Linked DNA regions of Homo sapiens: region 1 is linked to region 2. Evidence: promoter capture Hi-C in 16 types of primary human blood cells and fetal thymus (Javierre and others, 2016). All regions are on one chromosome and are shown on one strand. Each heading gives the region's core, a stretch centred on a gene start or on the middle of the fragment in contact. The rest is flanking DNA. Distances are from core to core; before and after follow the strand shown. Region 1 overlaps CARMIL1 (capping protein regulator and myosin 1 linker 1). Region 2 holds the start of SLC17A1 (solute carrier family 17 member 1).

Region 1 (3,249 bases), core at 224-2,723, 500 kb before region 2:
CAGCAGAAAGATACAGTTTCCAGAAAGGAATTTGGGACTTGCCAGTGTACAGGGAGTATTTAAAGCAATTGAAATAGGTGTGATATCACCAAGGAGAGAGATAGCAAGGAGAGAGGGTGCAAGAGCGGGCAAAGGACCAAGCTGGAAGGAACTCTTGACATTCACAGGAGCAAGAGCCAGCAAAAGAACAGAAAGAACGGCCAGGGAGAGAAGAGAAGAAAACCAGGAAACTGGTTTCATGGGGAAATATTTCAGGAACAGAGTGATCAACTGTGCTTAATTTGTATGATGAAGCGGAGATTTGTAGCATAGAGATCACTAGGCATTCTATTTGGACTGTCAGTGAAATTGAAATAAAAAGTCAAGAATCAACTTGATTTCCATCACAGGTTTTAGATTAGAAGAAACCAGAGAAACACAGCCCCAATTTTCTATTTGCTAGTTTTCCAAACAGTAAGTTTTCATTGATTTCACTGGCTCCCCTCCGGCTACTATTTGCTGTGCACAAACAAAGTCTGAATGAGCATTTTGTAGTCCTGAAAAGGAGTAGCATATGGGCTTCAACAGCCGGTCATATTTTCTTTTATTACTATATTTAAAGCAACATTCAAGATTAAAAAAAAATTCCTGGCAACTAGCATAACAAGCTGCAATAAAATCATTCCTGGCTATTGATATGGGCTACTTTGTGCCTCATGTCATGTTATTGAATCCAACTTCTTGGAATTGACTGTCTTAATCTGTCACTTAGCAAATTTATATTGGTGAGGAAGAACAAAAACAGATTTATAACTTGCATATCTCTTCAAGCTTCTGTTAATATGCTCAATATTAGAATGTTCTACTTTTAGCGTTTTGGGTCATAAGCTATAGAACATTGGGGCTTGGTGAGAGGATATGGGCATGGGGAGAGGAATGAATATTTGGCATTATTTATGTTTGAACCATTGAGCTGGGGTCTTTAGGTTTATTATTTCATTTAATTCCCACTCTGACGTAGGTGGTATTTCCCTCATTAGTAGATAAGGAAATGAGCTAGTAAAGAAAACTATTTAAATCCAGATCTAAAATGGATCTTTATTCTGTGCCAAGCTCTTGGGGGAAGAGTATGTGTGGAGGAGGAGTTGTGGGGACTCACAGAGCAGTGGCAAGGCAAGCCAGAGATACAGCAAAGGGATATCAAGGACTAATGAGGTACTTTAAAGGAGATCGAGTCATGGTAAGGCATTTAAATTAGTTTTGTTAGCAAGTACTGCATGGAACAGGAAGACTCTGTACATGCTCAGTGTAGGGCTTGGTCCGTCAAGACTGGCTAGGAGTTTTCTAGATAGAGCCTTGAATCTTGCATTACAGTCACTACAGAGCATGAGCTCTGTGGACATTTCATGAAAAGCTTCCTTTCTACTTGGATATATTTTTTTACTTCTTGTGTGCATACTTGATTTATTTACTGTTCCTTATAGAGCTGCAAGGCCTTGTTTCTTTTCTATAGAAGTTATATTTCTCTGAGTTCAGATGTCACATCTTCGTTACCTTCTCTCAAGTTTTGCTATACAAGCTTAGGAACGTCATCTCTTTCTCTTCCAGAGTTATCTTCCATCATGTAGGCTTTGGAGCCACTTTCCTCAGAGCCTCCATTTGCCTCACCTCTTCTTGCCTGGGACCTTGTAAAAACAGTGATTGTGGTAATTAAATTGAGATATGAGGAATATATATAACTATTATGTAGTCATAATAATTAAAAATTTAAAAAAAATGCAATGAGAGGGGAAAAAAATCTCCTGGATTGGTGAGCTAGACAAAACTTCATGTTAATTAACATGGATGCTTTAATCCATCTATTCCTGAGTCCAGGACATCAAATCTTGGGTTCTACAATGGGTGCCAGTCTTAGGAGGGTCATATGTATTTCCAGTCACAAAAGATCTTTCTGTCATGTTGGAGAAGACAAAAGTTTATAAGAATCAGTGGGCCATTTAAAATGATAATGAGCAACTTAGGCGTAAAGCCAGATGTCACAGGCTGGTGGCTTGCAGCCTGCTCTACTGTGCTTTAAATACGCAGTATTTAAAAAATTGATGTTGGTTCCCAATATTTATAAATTGGGAGATATCAGCCATAAATCTAGATTCCATCCTCCCCCACCTTTAAAAAAAAGAAAGTTGGATCTGGGAACACTAGGTCTATGTTTGTGCTTAGCAGGAATCGGAAGAGCTGGGTTGTGACCAGGCTCTTTCTTTTAGCAGTGGCAAGCTCTTTTCAGCTTTCTGCCATCCCGAAAGCACCCTAGTGTTTCTCATTGGCCGTGATGCCCATGTTGACTGCAATTTGTCATTGTCCTCAAGGCTGTCGTTTTTTCCACAGAGCCGGCTTTGCTCTTTGACAAAGCTACTTTGGCCTCCTTATACATTTGAGTTCATTGATCCTTAGCCTAAATGATCAGGACATGACACATTCAGAAGTTTGTATTATCTTGTAAAAGCACATGAGCAAAGTCTGTCTAGTAAGTGACATTGCTGGTATTCAGACCAGGATATGGCTGAGAGGAAGCACATATGTAAATTGAATGCATCAGGGATCTTTTGGAGAAGTCAAACAAGAATTCTGATTACCTCATCAGTGATACCTAAATGCAGATTTCTTCTTGCTTCAGACAAAATTTTTCAAAGATACTCAAAGTATCTCAGCTCTTGTTGTATGTGTGTTTTGAAAGATAGGGTTGAAGAAAACAATGAAAAGATAACAGGGATATCTGTCCTCCAGAGTTGTTCAGGGGATTCAGCATATGAGAAGTTATTTGCGAAGTTTTAGTTCCCAGTCTGGGCATCAGCTCATTATCATTAGTCTCTGATATGAGTTGTTTAATGATGAACTTGTGCAAAGCACTTGATCCTATTCAGCGTCAGACATTCATTGTTAAAAGAACACATTGAGGACACTGTTGTAGGTCAGGAAATTGAAGGTAGGGAGTTGAGGGCAAGTAGAAGAGAGTTTCATTCTGGAGTTAGTTCAGTAAACATTGAATGCTCATGATGTGTCAGGCTTTATGCTGCTACCAGAGGCAGGAAGATAAATAAGACAGAACATGCAGACTTGAACAGTACGGTGTGGTAAGAGGTGTGCCCATGGTACTGTGCGATTATAGACTGGCGTTGGCCCAGTGCAGGGCTAGAGGGATGCTCCATGGTGATGACTGAGTTGAGCCTTAAGGCCCGGATGAGCTGGCCAGGTAGTGATGACAAGAGGGAG
Region 2 (3,660 bases), core at 30-2,529:
TTTGTGATTGTTTTGGTTGATTAAAAATATATGGAAGACCTGAAAACTACAGAGAACAAACAAATAACCCTGCCAATCCAGAATTCTAAATCCGTGATAATATTCCTCCAAAGTGAGAAATGGAAAGAATTCATTGCCAGTAGACCTGCCCTGTAAGGAACACTAAAAGAAGCCTTTCAGGCAGAAGGAGATTGCTATAGGTCAGAAACTCGGCAGTATGAAAAGAAAGGAAGAATGTCAGAAAAGGAGTAAGCAAAGGTAAAACAAATTCCTTTTTTCCCCCTGTATCTTAATAGAGCTGGAAGATACTATCTGCTTATTGATAAGATCAACTCAAGCAGAGGCTAATCATTCGTTACACGTCCACATGCCCCTGTCCGTATCTTCAGTTTCCGTGGATAGAGCAGCCACTGATGCAAAGCTTTATGGCAGGAAGCTCAGTGGAGAATCAGAATGGAGCAGTCTCCTATCAGGCAACCCCTTACCATCAGAATTCAGCACCAATATGTGCTGGTCAGGTTAGACCTCAGGATTTTACCATATCAGATTATATGATACCTAGTGCCCCAAAGATACCAAAGTCCTGAGATTGGATTTGCAAAATATTTTTGAATAAGCAATTTGTCAACCATCATTATCACACATTGGAACCTCTTCTGGGGCTGCTGTTTATTTCAATACATATATACATACACACCAAATGCACACACAAACCACCCATACGTATGCACCACATACATACATACAACATAAACACATGGTACAAACTCCCCTTATGTTCTCCACACATACACTCCAGACACATAGCAAACCAAACATATAAATACGTTACAATACTGCATCCTCAAAACGGAAGTACAAACTACAAACACCACACACATAACCACACACACACATAAATGATGGGCACAGATGCACCAGGCGTACACAGTGTGCCACACACATTACAGACACAGCACACCACAGCTATACAAGCATCACACACTGTACAACACATACTTCTCTTTCCTTGTGTCCCTGTGAACCTCACACTGATTGCTAAAAATATGTTCTTTTTTCTCTTGTGAAAAGCCTCAGAAGATAGGGCATATTCCACCCCTCCCCACATTTTCCCCTATTGCTAAGTACTTTCAATAATATCTTTGCCAGGGAATGCCCCCTTACGGCCCTCTGGGGAATCAACTGATTGCTCATTTCATTTAATGAGCCCCGTAGACTAACCTGATTCGGGACAAAAAAGTGATTTCTTCTTCCGCTGTGAAGACTTTTCTCTCAACTTTACACAATATTGACTTTCTAGGATTACCAAGTTTAGCCCCATAAATCATTCACCAAATCTTTTGACATCACTGTGTCGAAGTTAAAAGCTTAATTTTTAACTTTACTGTTACCTTTTCCTTAAAGCTTCAGGGAAGGTGTGTGGGTCAAAATCATCCAGTGGACCAGAAACTGGGAATCTGCCAGTAATTTCATGGCATAATAAGCAGACACCCTTAGTCTCTCTCCCTGCCCAGGAGGTAGAGCTTGCCTGCCATAAGTGCTCTCAAGATTTCTCTATTAAGGATGGCTCTGAGTATACAATGCTGTTCTCACAGGAATGTTGTGGCTTTCTAAATGCCCCATAAATGCCATATTAAATTTTTACTCTTAATTCCCTTCCTTCCTTTCTTCCTCCTTTTCTTCCTTTTTTCTTTCTTTCTTCCTTCTCTTTCCCTTCTTCCTTCTCCCTCCTTCCTTGCTTTCCCTCCTTCCCTCACCCTGTCTCCTCCACACTCCTCTCTAAACAGTACATCTGTTTGACATTCAGCATACTCAGAAAGAGGTACATTTTATTGAGGCATGTCCTCTGGAAGGTGTGGCTTCTCTCATGGCTCTTCCTGCAATTACTGTAGGTTCTGGTTCATCCACTTGGTTATAGCAATATCCAGAAACATTAAAAAAAAAACATAGAGAGACAGGATCTCACACTGTCACCCAGGCTGGAGTGCTATGGTGCAATTATAGCTCAGTGCAGACTTGAACTCCTGAGCTCAAGGGATCCTTCCACTTCAGCCCCAAGTAGCTGGGATTACAGGTATGCAACACTGTACCCAGCTAATTGGTAGAGACAGGGTCTTGCTGTGTTGCCCAGGTTGATATCAAACTTCCTGCCACAAGCAATCCTTGTGCCTTGGCCTCCCAAGTGTTGGAATGACAGGCGTGAGCCGTCGTGCCTGGCCCCTAATACTTTTAACTTAGAACTCTTTGAAGGTAATCTACTAATTACTTAAAAATATCCAAGCACTAAAATCAGTGATTTTGCATTATAGGTAATTTATTTCATGCTTAACAAGTTTTTTTTTAATTTTTATCATGCTTTTAAAGTGCTCATTAAATGTTTGGCACATAGCAGATGCTCTGTAAATTCAACCAGTTATTTTTTTCCTCTAAAGAAATGTTGTAAATCTTTAACCCCTTTGCCCAGGAGACTTTGATGTTGTTATTCAGTTAGATTTTTTCTTTTTCAAAAGTCCAGATTCTGCTGGTCCTCTTCTGTGTGTTGCAGAATGTTTGTACTGTCCTGTTTCATGCTGGGCAATTTCTGGCATTTTCTGAAAGAGGAGCCCTTTTAGTGATTGAAACCCCTAGGTCAGCAGTTGTTCAAAGTCCATGTGTTAAATAATAACACTCCCATCTGCCATCAGTATCCCAGTTCTGGATACTGATTACCTGAAGGAGAACCATCTTTCTGTTTGCTGGCCCCAAAGCTTTCTGCTGCTCTGTGAGATTCTTTGAAATTGTTTCTTTTGGATTCTGTGTTTTATGTATTAAATTTTTAAATTTATCATTTTATTATGGAAATGTTTAAGCATACAAAAAAGTAGATCAGTTTAAGATAACTGTGTACATATTCACCCACTTCAATAATTATCAATATTTGGCCATTTGAGTTTTCATTTGGCCTTTTGAATGTTATCAACAACATTCAATGGTTGTTTTTTGTAGCATTTTAAAGCAGATCTCAGACATTATGTCATTTCTTCTATAAAACATTCAGCATGGCTATCTAATTCATTAGGACCTTAAAAGATATAACTAACATGGTATCAGCACATCTAGTAAATAAACAATAATCCCTTAACATCACCTAATATCCAACCTTTATGACAATTTTCCCAATTGCTTCAAAATTGTGTCCTTTATATTTGCTTGATTTAAGTGAGGATTTGAATAGGATCCACATAATGGCGCTTAATTGTTACGGCTGTCATGTCTCTTATTTTATAATAATCCCCTCTCCCAGTTTACATTTGCCATTACTTAAAAACAACAACAATAAAACAGGATCCCTTGCAGAGTGTCTCTCCTAATTGGTTTGGCTAATAGCTCGCTTTTAGGATTATTTGATATATTTTTGTATTTCCTTACATCCTGCAAACCGTGAGGTTTATATAGAGGCTTGGTTAGATTCAGCACAAAAACAATTCACAGGGATATGGGATGATACAGGGTACTATCGCTCCGTGTTGGGAGGCACATAATAGCAGGTTGTCTCACTTTTAGTGGTAGTAAGATTAATCAGTAGTTTCAGATATTCTTAGCCTGACTTATTAATAAAGTTTTCACCAACATTTCACCTATGGCTTTTAGCTACAGTTAGTAAATGTTGCCTAGATCTAT

What was found. The method cuts DNA at HindIII sites, captures the fragments that hold promoters and counts their contacts. A CHiCAGO score of 5 or more calls a contact.
Region 1: a contact is called between a fragment that was not itself captured here and the fragment with the promoter of SLC17A1 in region 2, in 1 of 17 cell types (erythroblasts). The highest score is 6.0, in erythroblasts.

Annotation. Positions count from the first base shown.
Region 1 is chr6:25,327,074-25,330,322 of GRCh38, forward strand. The region is part of intron 2 of CARMIL1 (capping protein regulator and myosin 1 linker 1); the gene reads left to right. It overlaps LOC124901281 (a long non-coding RNA gene), which reads right to left. Exons shown (of 3, transcript XR_007059512.1): 3 at 633-1,664. Among named protein-coding and RNA genes, the nearest start is that of CARMIL1, 49 kb to the left of the region's middle. The HindIII fragment of the contact is 165 bases long and covers 1,392-1,556 here.
Region 2 is chr6:25,830,773-25,834,432 of GRCh38, forward strand. It overlaps SLC17A1 (solute carrier family 17 member 1), which reads right to left and starts at 1,280. Exons shown (of 13, transcript NM_005074.5): 1 at 1,222-1,280. The HindIII fragment of the contact is 946 bases long and covers 420-1,365 here.